2 separate regions of the Homo sapiens genome follow, and region 1 is linked to region 2. The links are contacts of gene promoters, found by promoter capture Hi-C in human tissues and cell types (Jung and others, 2019). All regions are on one chromosome and are shown on one strand. Each heading gives the region's core, a stretch centred on a gene start or on the middle of the fragment in contact. The rest is flanking DNA. Distances are from core to core; before and after follow the strand shown.

Evidence for each region. Contacts are between HindIII fragments. The study calls those that stand out against the background at their distance.
Region 1: a contact is called between a fragment that was not itself captured here and the fragment with the promoter of ASPG in region 2, in 3 of the 25 tissues and cell types used here (dorsolateral prefrontal cortex, heart left ventricle and lymphoblastoid cells).

The regions. Positions count from the first base shown.
Region 1 is chr14:104,524,191-104,530,226 of GRCh38, reverse strand. LOC124903395 (a long non-coding RNA gene) reads left to right here. Exons shown (of 2, transcript XR_007064361.1): 2 at 1-542. Among named protein-coding and RNA genes, the nearest start is that of C14orf180, 53 kb to the left of the region's middle. The HindIII fragment of the contact is 6,901 bases long and covers 1-5,483 here.
Region 2 is chr14:104,084,056-104,090,099 of GRCh38, reverse strand. ASPG (asparaginase) reads right to left here and starts at 4,400. Exons shown (of 16, transcript NM_001080464.3): 1 at 4,248-4,400. The coding sequence starts at 4,329. The HindIII fragment of the contact is 41,970 bases long and covers 1-6,044 here.

The DNA of each region.
Region 1 (6,036 bases), core at 784-3,283, 440 kb before region 2:
GTAACATTTAACTTCTGTTCCTCACACCGTGGTTTCCATTGTCACTGTCACCCGGTTTAACATTCAGATGATTCCAGAGCTTGTCCCCAGCCTTTGCTGTGGTTCCTACCCCCTTGAGTTTTGTCTTCATCAGCGTTTGTCACCTGGATTTTGTCATCTGAGGTTGCTGGAGAGGCCCCTGTGCTGGCTCACCGTGTAATTTATCATCCTACCTGGAGCACTTGACTTCTACTTTTTAGACTTTTTATCTGGAAATGATTTCAAACTTAGACAAAGTCACAAAAGCAAAAAGAGTGCAAGGAATAGCCATATACCCATTGCTCAGATTTACCTATTATTCTATCCCATTTGCTGTATCATTTGTGTTGTAAGAACAGGAGTATTCTCTTACATAACCTCAACACAGTCATCAACCTCATACATCTCCATTAGTATTAATAAGAAGTATTTTTACATGATATGCCATCTGTATTCCAATGTTGTCAGATGTTCTAATAATATCCTGTAATTAATGAATTAAAAGATGAGGTCTAGCTCTGTTACCAGGCTGAAGTCTAGTTGTGCAATCATGGCTCACTGCAGCCTCAACCAACCAGGCTCAAGCGATCCTCCCACCTCAGCCTCCTGAGTAGCTGGGACCACAGGTGCGCACCACCACATCCAGCCTCTACTAATGTCATTTGTAGCCTTTGTAGCACCCTTTCCCTCTCAAACTTGAGCACTTTTTAGAGCAAGAGTTTGCTATGGACAACTATGCTGGTGATGCAGGACAGGCAAGCCGCAAAGTGGGGCTCAGCCTGAGAGGGTTCTTGGCTTTGCCCAGGAAAGAATTCAAGGGCAAGCCAGAGGCAGAAGAAAACAGCTTTATCGAAGCTGCAGTGTCACAGCTTCAGTGGTGTTATAGCTCCAAGACTGCACCTGCTGGGCCGGGCTACCCCATAGGCAAAGAGGGGAAGCTCAGGGCTGTTCTGCTCATATTTATACCCACTTTTTTTTTTCTTGAGACAGAGTCTCACTCTGTCACCCAGGCTGCAGTGCAGTGGTGTGATCTCAGCTTACTGCAACCTCCGCCTCCCAGGTTCAAGCGATTCTCCTGCCTCAGCCTCCCAAGTAGCTGGGATTACAGGCATGTGCCACTGCACCTGGCTAATTTTTGTATTTTTAGTAGAGATGAGGTTTTTCCATGTTAGCCAGGCTGGTCTCGAACTCGTGACCTCAGGTGATCCACCGGTCTTGGCCTTCCAAGGTGCTGGGATTACAGGTGTGAGCTACCGCACTTGGGTTCCCACTTTTAATTGCATGCAGATTAAGGAGTATGCAGGGAAGGGGCAGTAACTTTTGGATCATTGGGTACCATGGAAAGAGGCAGTAACTCCTGGGCGTTGCCATGACAACAGTAAATTGACATGGCACACTGGTGGGCAGGTCTGATTGAAAGCTGCTTTCACCCCAGCACTGTTTTAGCTAGTCCTCAATCTGGTCCAGTGTCTGAGCCCTTCCTCTGGAGTCAAGCCCCACCTCCTGTCTCACTGGGACAATGGGAATCTCGGGCTGCCACAGGCCCGGGAGATCCCCGCTTTCTCCTCCTGTGGGCGCTGTGTATTCTTCAAGTTCTTGCCTACCTAAGAGTCTGTTTCCTTTATACGTCAAGTCAGGATTATCGGATATAAAATCCTCAAGTCAAACATTTTTTCCATCAGAACTCTGTAGCTACTGTGTTCTGATATTTAAGTGATGCTCCGTCTGATTATTTCCAACCCCCTGAAGTTTAACAATGGCAGCAGCATACATCGTGCTGTTTTGCTGGCCCCACTCCTGCCCCCAGAATGTGTGCTCTGCAGAGCTGCAGATCCAGGCTTAAGGAACATGTATTTTGTGATAGCCCAGAGTCTATTTTTTTTTTTTCAGGCTTATGTGTTTTGTTTTCTTCTTCAGGAACATCAATTGTGCATGTGTTATATCTTCTTTGTTTGAATTCTGTACTTACCGTCTTATTTTTACATTGTAGAAACTTTCACTTTATTGTGTGTGACTTCCTCAAGCTCAACACTTTATCCTTTTAAAGGCATTTTCAGCCATGTTTATTTTTCTCTTTGTTCAGATGTGGTTATGGTCTCCAATCAACTTCTCTCTTCCATCTCTTTTCTGGGCTCCAGTGGCTCACACCTTCTGTTATCTTATCATCTCTTCTTTGAAACCACACATCTCCTTTTTGAGCGCTTCTCCCTTTTAGGAGATGAGGTTGTCTTGAAGCAGAAGAAACCTTTTTGTCTGAACTTTGCCTGTGTTTCCTTGGGTCGTTCTCCCAGGGGTGAATGTTTTTCATTTGTCTTTTATGTATAATTCCTTCATTTTAATTTTTGAAGTATTTATGCATAGGTGTGAAGTCACTTCCTAATAGTAACTTGTCTTTAACAGGGGAGGGCTATCTGCTGGGGGTGTGGGAGAGAGTGTATGTGTGTGAGTGTATGTGTGTGTGTGTGCATGAGTGCGTATGTGTGGGAGTGTGTGGGATGTGTGCATGAAAGTGTGTGCAAAAGTGTGTGGGTGCATATGTGAGCATGTGTCTGAATGTATGTGTGAGAGAACGTGTGTGTGAATGTGTGTCTGAATGTGTGTGTGTGAGAAAGTGTGTGTGAATGTGTTTGTGAATGTGTGAGTGTGGTGCATGAGTGCATATATGTATGTGAGAGTGTGAATGTGTGTGGATGTATGTGAAAGTGTGTGTGAAAATGTGAGTGTATGTCTGTGAAAGTGTGAATGTGGCTGTATGTCTGTGAAAGTGTGTGTGAATGTGGGTGTATGTGTGTGAACGTGTGTGTATAAGTGTGAATGTGTGTGGGTGTGTGTCTGAATGCATGTGTGTGGGTGTGTATGTGTGTGTCTGAATGTGTGTCTGAATGTGTGTCTGAATGTGTGTATGAGTGTGAACGTGAATGGGTGTATGAGTGTGAATGTGTGTGGGTGTATGTGTGTGAAAGTGTGAAAATGTGGGTGTATGTCTGTGAAAGTGTGTGGGTGTGTATGTGTGTGAATGTGTGTGTAAATGTGTGCATGACTGTGAATGTGTGTGGGTGTATGTGTGTGAATATGTGTGTATGACTGTGAATGTGTGTGGGTGTATGTGTGAATGTGTGTCTAAATGTGTATGTGTGTGGGTGTGTATGTGTGTGTCTGTGTGTCTGAATGTGTATGAGTGTGTGTCTGAATGAGTGTGTGGTGTATGTGTGTGAAAGTGTGTGGATGTATGTGTGAAAGTGTGAATGTGTGTTGTGTGTACGTGTGTAAGTGTGTGAATGTGTGTATGTGTGTGAAAGTGTGTGTGCATGTGTGTGGGTGTGTGTGAGAAAGTATGTGTGAATGTGAGTGTGTGTATATGAGTGTCTGTGTGTGAATGTGTGTCTGTGTGTATGTGTGAGAGAGTGTGAATGTGTGTGGGTGTACGTGTGTCTGAAAGTGTGTGACTGTGTGTGAGTGTGTGTGAATTGTGTGTGTGGCCATTGCAGGCCACGCCTCCACTCTGGTTTATTTTCTCAAGGGCTCTCTCACAATATCTGTTTTCCTTTCCTGGTGGACACACACCCCTTCAGCCTTTAGTGCAGGCCGTTAATTGTGGCTTATAGATGCTTCTAGACAACAGCCCCTATGTCATCAGCTGATAATCACTATTATCAACGTCTCAAATGTCTTCTAGAGTTTCTTTAGGAAATTACAAGCAAATCTGAATCTATTCATGTTTCCATGTTTATGCAAAAGGTAGCATAGGTAGCATAGTACACCTGTTCCTTTGCAGGTGCTGTGAAGTTTGCCTCTAGACACTGTGCTGTGAGGAGTAGGCCTCTACATGTGCCGCTCGCTGGGCACGTGAACGAGAGTGTTTATAGACTGCTGTAGAGTTTGCCACTAGACACTGTGCTGTGAGGAGTAGGCCTCTACATGTGCCGCTCTCTGGGCACGTGAACGAGAGTGTTTATAGACTGCTGTAGAGTTTGCCTCTAGACACTGTGCTGTGAGGAGTAGGCCTCTACATGTGCCGCTCTCTGGGCACGTGAACGAGAGTGTTTATAGACTGCTGTAGAGTTTGCCTCTAGACACTGTGCTGTGAGGAGTAGGCCTCTACACGTGCCGCTCGCTGGGCACGTGTACGAGAGTATTTATAGACTGCTGTAGAGTTTGCCTCTAGACACTGTGCTGTGAGGAGTAGGCCTCTACATGTGCCGCTCTCTGGGCACGTGAACGAGAGTGTTTATAGACTGCAACGTTTTCAAAAGTGGAGTCGCTGGGTGAAAGAGAACATGCATTTGTAATTTTGATGGAAGTGTGCACATTGCCCTCCAGAGGGGCTGCACCTGTGTGTGCTCATGCCAGGGAGGGCTGTCTCTCCCCGGCCTGGCCAGGCAGGGTGCTATCAAGCTTTTGGGTTCTTGCCACTCTGATGGAGGAAAATGTCCTCTTGGTGTAGCATCTATTTTTAAAAATTGAAGTGAAATGTGCAGATATTAAGTGTAGAGTTTGAGGAGTTTTGAGGCATGCGTATCTGAGCACAGCCCCCACCTCCATGAAGATGTAGCACACTCCACACCCCAGGTTCTTCCAGGCCCTTCCTGTTCAGTCCTTCCCACCCAGGGGCAGCTGCTGTTCTCATGTCTTTCATGATAGAGTCATTTTGCTCTAGAGCTTCTTGTACAGGGAGTTGTAGAGTAAGTGTCCCTTTATGTATTTGTCTGTTCACACTCTGCTGATAAAGACATACCTGAGACTGGGTAATTTATAAAGAAAAAGAGGTTTAATGGACTCACAGTTCCATGTGGCTGAGGAGGCCTCACAACTATGGCCGAAGGAGACAGGCACGTCTTACGTGGCATCAGACAAGAGAGAATTAAGAACCGAGTGAAAGGGGTTTCCCCTTGTAAAACCACCAGATCTCATGAGACCAGTAACGGGGAAACCGCCCCCATGATTCAATTATCTGCCACCAGGTCCCTCCCACAACATGTGGGAAATTCAACATGAGATTTGGGTGGGGACACAGCCAAACCAATCCCCTTACATCTGTCTTCTTTCACTCAGCACGCTGATTTTGAGAGGCATGTGTATCTTTTTACCAGCCTTCATTGCTTTTCCTTGCCAATGGACCATTCATGGTGTGGATGGACAGGACGTTTATTCACCTGTGGATGGACGTTTGGGTCTTTTCCCTTTTGGCTCAAGGAATAAGGCTGCATGGTGTTTATCACCGATCTGTGTGTGGACAGGTTTCGTTTCTCTTGGGCGGGCACCCTGGAGAGGAGTGCCTGGGTTGTGGGGTGGGTACGCCACCTCATGAGGCCCTGCGGGGCTGGCTCCTGATGTCAGCATCTGGATGGGACCATGTCCCTCCACCCTCAGGGCCCGGGAATCTCAGATGCCCCACATCCTCACCAACACTTGGTGTCGTCAATCTTCTTGCTTTTGCCATTTAGTGGTGTAGAGCAGGGTCTGAGGTTTCTTTTGTTTCCTGGGTCTGGAACATCTCCTCAGCTGTCACTTAGTACATTTCAAAAGAGTAAGCCCCACCCTTTAAAAAATGAACCCTGCATGGTTGCACACTCCTGTATTTCCAGCTACTAGGGAGGATGAGGTGGGAGGATCGCTTGAGGTGGGGAAGTCAAGGCTGCGGTGAGCTATGACTGTGGTATTGTACTCCAGACGGGGCAATAGAGAAAGACCCAGTCTCTAAATCAATAAATAATAAATGAGGGCTGGGCACAGTGGCTCACGCCTGTAATTCCAGCACTTTGGGAGGCCAAGGCAGGCAGATCACCTGAGGTCAGGAGTTCAAGACTAGCCTGGCCAACCTCGTCTCTACTAAAAAGACAAAATTAGGCTGGGCACGGTGGCTCATGCCTGTAATCCCAGCACTTTTGGAGGCTGAGGTGGGCAAATCACCTGAGGTCAGGAGTTCAAGACCAGCCTGGCCAACATGGTGAAACCCTGTCTCTACTAAAAACACAAAAAAATTAGCTGGGTGTGGTGGCACACCCCTGTAATCCCAGA
Region 2 (6,044 bases), core at 3,151-5,650:
TTTTATGGCTCACACCTGTAATCCCAGAATTTTGGGAGGCTGATGCAGGAAGATCATTTGAGCCCAGGAGTTCAAAACCAGCCTGGCCAATTTCTTTCTTTTTTCTTTTTCTTCTCCTTTCTTCCTTTTTTTTTTTTTTTTTTTTTTTTTTTGAGGCAGAGTCTCACTCTGTTGCCCAGGCTGGAGTACAGTGATGCCATCTCGACTCACTGCAACCTCCACCCACCCGGCTCAAGCAATTCTCCTGCCTTAGCCTCCCGAGTAGCCGGGATTACAGGCATGCACCACCACACCTAGCTAATTTTTTATTTTTAGTAGAGACGGGGTTTCGCCATGTTAGCAAGGCAAGTGAACCACCCGCCTTGGCCTCCCAAAGTGTTGGAATTACAGGCCTGAGCCACCATGTCTGGCCAAACGTTCCTTTTTCAAACCTATACTGTCGCCAGTAAAGTTTTCTTACCAACCTGCGAGTGGACCACTTTCCAACTCTGGGGCTCCAGCACTCACCCCGCAGTCAATGTGTTGTACGTCAGCAGCCATTCTAACAGGTATGTAGTGGCATCAGTTTTTTTTGTTTGTTTGAGACAGGGTCTCACTCTGTCACTCAGGCTGGAGTGCAGTGGCGAGATCTCGGCTCACTGCAACCTCCACCTCCTGGGTTCAAGCGATTCTCATGCCTCAGCCTCCCCAGTAGCTGGGACCACAGGCATCTGCCACCACATCTGGCTAATTTTTTTTTTGTATTTTTAGTAGAGACAGGGTTTCACCATGTTGTCCATGGCTGGTCTTGAACTCCCGATCTCAAGTGATCCACCCACCTCAGCCTCCCAAAGTGCTGGGATTACAGGTGTGAGCCACCGCGCCCAGTCAGCTGGGGCAATTTCTTTTGTTATTTTAAATAAACACCAGCTTTCAGCCGGGCACGGTGGCGGGCGCCTGTAGTCCCAGCTACTCGGGAGGCTGAGGCAGGAGAATGGTGTGAACCCGGGAGGCAGAGCTTGCAGTGAGCTGAGATCGCGCCACTGCACTCCAGTCTGGGCGACAGAGTGAGACTCCATCTCAAAAAAATAAAAATAAATAAAAAATAAACAAACACCGGCTTTCACACCTAACTATGATTTTGTAACTTGTATTACTTTTCTCAATGAGGGCCCTCCAAAAGCTTCAAGGGCTGCAGAATCTGAACCCTCCAGCCCTGCCTGGAACCTCTTCCTTGGCCCATCCAGGCAGGTGCCTGAGTTTGCTGGTGACTTGGAAACTCCTCAGCCCCCTGCCAAACACCTGGAAAGGAGGCTTTGCTCTCTAAGACAATGGGCCCCACTGTCACCAGCGAAGTCAAGCTTAGGCTTAGAAACTTGTGAACGTGTAGCACCCATTCAGGAAGGAGGTCCAGGCCAAGGGCACAGACGCCACTGCAGTAACCAAGAAGCCATGGGCATCACTCCACTGACACTCTCGACTGCTGGGACCCGTGTGGTCACCGGGCAGGGAGCTTCTCTCAGCTGCCTGGCCCCAGATCTCTGCCCTCCCTGCTGTGCCTGCAAGGAGCCGGGCTCAGGAGGGACTTTGGGACAGGCCGGCAAGCAGGTGGGGTTCCCAGTTTGACATAGGAAGTCTTCAAGTTTCTCGGGTGTACAGAACGTGGCCACTGATGCCAGCTTGGGCTTGGGGTTATCAGCCGTGTTTGGATTCGCTATGCCCCTTGACCTGTGATAGCTTCAATGAACTCAGAGAAGGGATGGGTCAAGGGGCGTCCCCACTGGCATCACCTCTGCCCTCCCTGAACTCTGGCAGGGCTCCAGGTGTGCAGCGTTCCACCCACAGGTCACTGTTTACCAGCAGGCGCAGAAGCCGTTCCAACAGCGACAATCAAACAGCTTTACTAGGGCAAAGCCACCACTCCCCTCTCACCTCCCCAGGGAAGGCCAGAGCCCACGTCAGCAGTGTGGAGGGAGTAAATCATTGACGCCTGACAGTCTGGCTGCTCCAACCTCACGAGGGGTTGGGGGAGCCCATTCCTGCAGGTTCCTGGAAGTGGATGCCCCACATGGGTCAGCTAGCAACAGCTGGGGGTGACCTCGCAGCCACACGAGGACGGGCTGCTGAGCAGAAGCCAGGACCCCAGTGCACAGAGCACCAAGGGATCTCAGAAGGCTGCTTCAGGTCTGAAGACTGACGCCCCACACCCAATTTCCAGCCTCCAAGTCTCTTGTTTCCCACCCAGACACAGGACCTCACAGCCTCTTTCAGAAATGCGGTGCACGCGTGTGAGTGCACCCACAGGCTGCTGCGGCGAGCACGCGGGGGCCAAGCGAGACGGGTGTGTGGTGGGGTTACAGAGTCCACCTGCCCCTGCAGCTCGGACCACTCAAGAACTACATGTTGAGCTCAACGAAACTGCAGTTGGCCACACTCCAAGCCTGAAGGGGTAGCGTCAGGGGCGTCGGACGAGGCCCCACACAGAGTCCCCAGGTCCTGTCCCCACTCGGGGGCAGCTCTGGCAGGCTCCGGCCCTGCTGGGCTCCCCACTCCTCTTTCCTGCACCTTGCAGGGCTGCTCCTGGCCTGGCCCTCTCCCATCTTTGTCCTGCAGGCCTTGTGTCCTCAGAGAAGCCCTCCCTGGGCTGCCTCCAAACTCCACACCATCCACACACCCAGCTCAGACCCTGTTATCAGCCCACAGCCCCTACAGGGCCCTGGCAGATCCTGCCCCTGGGACTAGCTCCTTAATGCATGCCATCCCTTCAATGGCAGCCTCTCTCTCTAGCTTGTGAGGGCCAAGCACAGGAATTGTGTCACTCTGTGTCAGTGGAGTGTCACACAGGGGCGTTTGCCAAGCTGTGAATGACTTTGTTCCATTCACAGGCAGAAGGAGAAGTGCAGAGGAGGCTCCCGGCAGCCTGGACAGCCACGTTCTTGGGGACCTGAGTCCCTCGTGGACGAGCCCCACTAGGCTTTGTCTCCTGGGCTGGGCGCAGAGTGGGCCTCCAGAGGGGTCTGCACCGGCCACAGTGTGGTGGGTGGAATCTGAGAGCACCGACAGAGTGCTGGTGGCTTCTGAGCAGCCACTTCAGCAGAAAGGGGTGGCCAGGAGGGGCAGCTGCCAGGGAACAGGCCGTGAGAGGGGGTGGGGATAGGAGGGGCGGGGAAGTGGTTGGCAGATGGGCAAGGGACAAGAGAATGTTCTGGTCATGCCAGGGGAGGCCCTGGGCTCTGGCAGAGCCGGAGAGGGTCCCAGCCGTCCCAGGAGAGAGAGCTGCGCTGGACACAAGCAGGAGTGTGGGGAGGGGCCAGGGCAGCAGGGAGTGGGAGGAGGAGGAGTGGAAAGGGCTCCTGAGGGAAAGGCAGGCAGTGGCCCATGGAGGGTCGCAAACAGGTTCAAGACGGGGCGAGGGGGCTGTCCTGGCCCCAAGGGAGGCCCCACATCACAGCAGAGCCCATCTGGGGGCCCCAGGCAGTGTCCTGCCCTCCTGGGGAACACCCAGGCATTCTGGAGGCTCCAGTGCAACCGTCCTCTCCCCATCCCGGTGGCCTCAGGCTCCCCAAGCTACCATCCTTCCTGTGCCCAGCCCAGGCTGGCAGCACTGTGCTGGAGTACCACAGAGCTCGGTGCCTGTCCCAGGCCCTGACCCCACCCAGGCAGAACTCAGTCCAGACGCAATCGCTGGTCTCTGGTCAACCAGGTCCACACAGGGGCAGAGGAAGCAGGGCTCTGAGGCCACCTCGGGTGTGAACACGTGCGTCCCCGCAGATGCCAGGTAGCCCCAGTATCGTGCCAACCACTGCTGCCTGACCAGGACCCCAGGGGACGGGGACACCCTCCTGGGTGTCGCAGTTGAGGGGTCCTCGCAGCCTCCTAAGCCTTCTCCAGGGCAGCCTCCTAAGCCTTCTGTGTCCAGAGCAGGAGCGGCAGGCCAATGCCCTGGGGCCCTCCCGCCCCATATTCCAGGACTTCAGGACGCTGGCCCTCAGGGGCGCAGCGGCAGCACAGGGGGCCTGGCCCCAGGGTCGCAGGGCGCTCCCGGGAGCACCGCGACGGCGAGAACCCACCGCAATCTCCTCTGTCCAGGTCGGGGCTCCATGCGTGGGGACGCCGGTGGCCGGAACCGGAGGAGAGCGACCTCAGCCCGCACCCCCCATCCAGGCGCGGATTTGACTCCCCAACGACCCCCGTGGGTGCAGGAGGGTCCGAGGCTCCCGGTCGCGGCCAGGTCCAGAGGCCTACCCCGCCCAGGGTCTCGGACTCACCGCCGAGCTCACTCCGCATGCCAATGGTGCCGCCGGTGTAGACGGCCAGCAGCCTCCGCTCGGGCCCCACCGCGCGCGCCATGCCGGACCGGGGACCACGGGAGTGGACGGGGGTGTGCAGCGGGGACGCAGGGCCTGCGGGACTCAGGGACTGCGCGGAGGAGGCCCGGGGCGCCGGGGGCAGCCTGGGAGGGCGGGGCCGGCGGGGGCACCCACGGGGAGGGGGCGGGAGTGGAGTCTGCCCGGGAGGGTGGGAGGCCCCGCGGAGGCGGGCGGGGGCAGGACCTGGGGGCGGGGTGGGTCCCGGGGACTGTCCAGGGTCGGAGAGAGAGGCGGGGCCTGGCGGGGTGGGGGCGGGGCCTGGCGGGGTGCGGGGCGGGGCCTGGCGGGGTGCGGGGCGGGGCCTGGCGGGGTGCGGGGCGGGGCCTGGCGGGGTGCGGGGCGGGGCGCGGCCTTGGAAACGTGTAGGAAGAGGTGAGGTCTGTGAGGGCGGCAGGGGGAGCTCCTGCCTGGGCAGGAGATTGGCTGGGGCCTGCTTGGGGCTGGGGAGCGCCTGTCCAGGGACTAGGGGGCAGCCAGAAAGGCAGCGACAGGGGTGGGGCGGGTCCTGAGCCATCCTGCGGCCATTGGCCCTCCGTGGCGGCCCTGGGTGTTTGAGTAGCTGTGACATGTGGTGCCTGGCAGACCGTAGTGCCCGAGGCCCTCCACGACCTGAGCACAGAGGGGGCTCCGTGTCCTGTCAAGCAGCCTCCACAGCCCCGGGGCTCCAAGGCCGGCATTGCTGCCCAGGCCCTGCTGTCCCTCCTTTGGATGGCCAGAGGCAGGCAGAGCTGGACCAGCCCCTCCACATGTGCCCATTCACACACCATCCAAGAGAAGAGCCCGAGGGGCCCCCAAGGGCTGGAGCGGGACAGAGCAGGAGTATGGCCTTCTTGGACAAACACCGCCATTTTAGGTTCCCTTTGATTAAAAAGCTGCCTAAATCCAGCCCAAAACACATCAGCCCAATAGCTAATGTCAGCACGACCGTAAACCACAAATAACATCTCCAATCAGAAACATGCCAACCTCGAGATAACCTCCCCTCCGACCAGAGACATTCCAAGCCCGCAATAAACTTTCCCTCACATAGAAACATTCCGAGCCTGCGATAAGCTCCCCACTTCCTAAACCCTTAAAGATCCTTAGTCTGTAGGAGAGATGGCTCCTGACCAAAATCGGCCAGAAGTCCCTTTCAGGTTTATTCTCCAAAATAAACCTGCCTTTGTTGAGCCGCTTTTCATGTTTCTTTCCTCTTTCTTTAACTCCTACAGAGCCCACCCTCCTTCACTCCCATGAGAGCCCAGGAGGGCAGGGCACTGGCGGGTGCAGGGTCCCAGGAGGGTCCCAAGCTGCAGGCTTGCTCCCAGGTGGACAGAAGATCCGCGGCCTCCTCGTCTCCTGGCACCTTGACTGCCTGGGGCACTGATGCACTTTGGTGGGAAACTGTGTGTTGCCCCCAGAAGGCACCAGCATTTGACACTGATTCCATAATAAAAATTATTATTATTCTGTTGCCTGGAGGGCAGTAGCAAGATCTTGGCTCACTGCAACCTGTGCCTCCCAGGTTCAAGCAATTGTCTTGTCTCAGCCCCCTCCCCGAATAGCTGGGATTGCAGGTGCACACCACACCAGGCTAATTTTTTTTTCTTTTTTTTTTTTTGTATTTTTAGTAGAGACGGGGTTTCACCATGTTGGCCAGGCTGGTCTTGAACTCCTGACCTCAGGTACTCCACCCACCTCAGCCTCCCTAAGTGT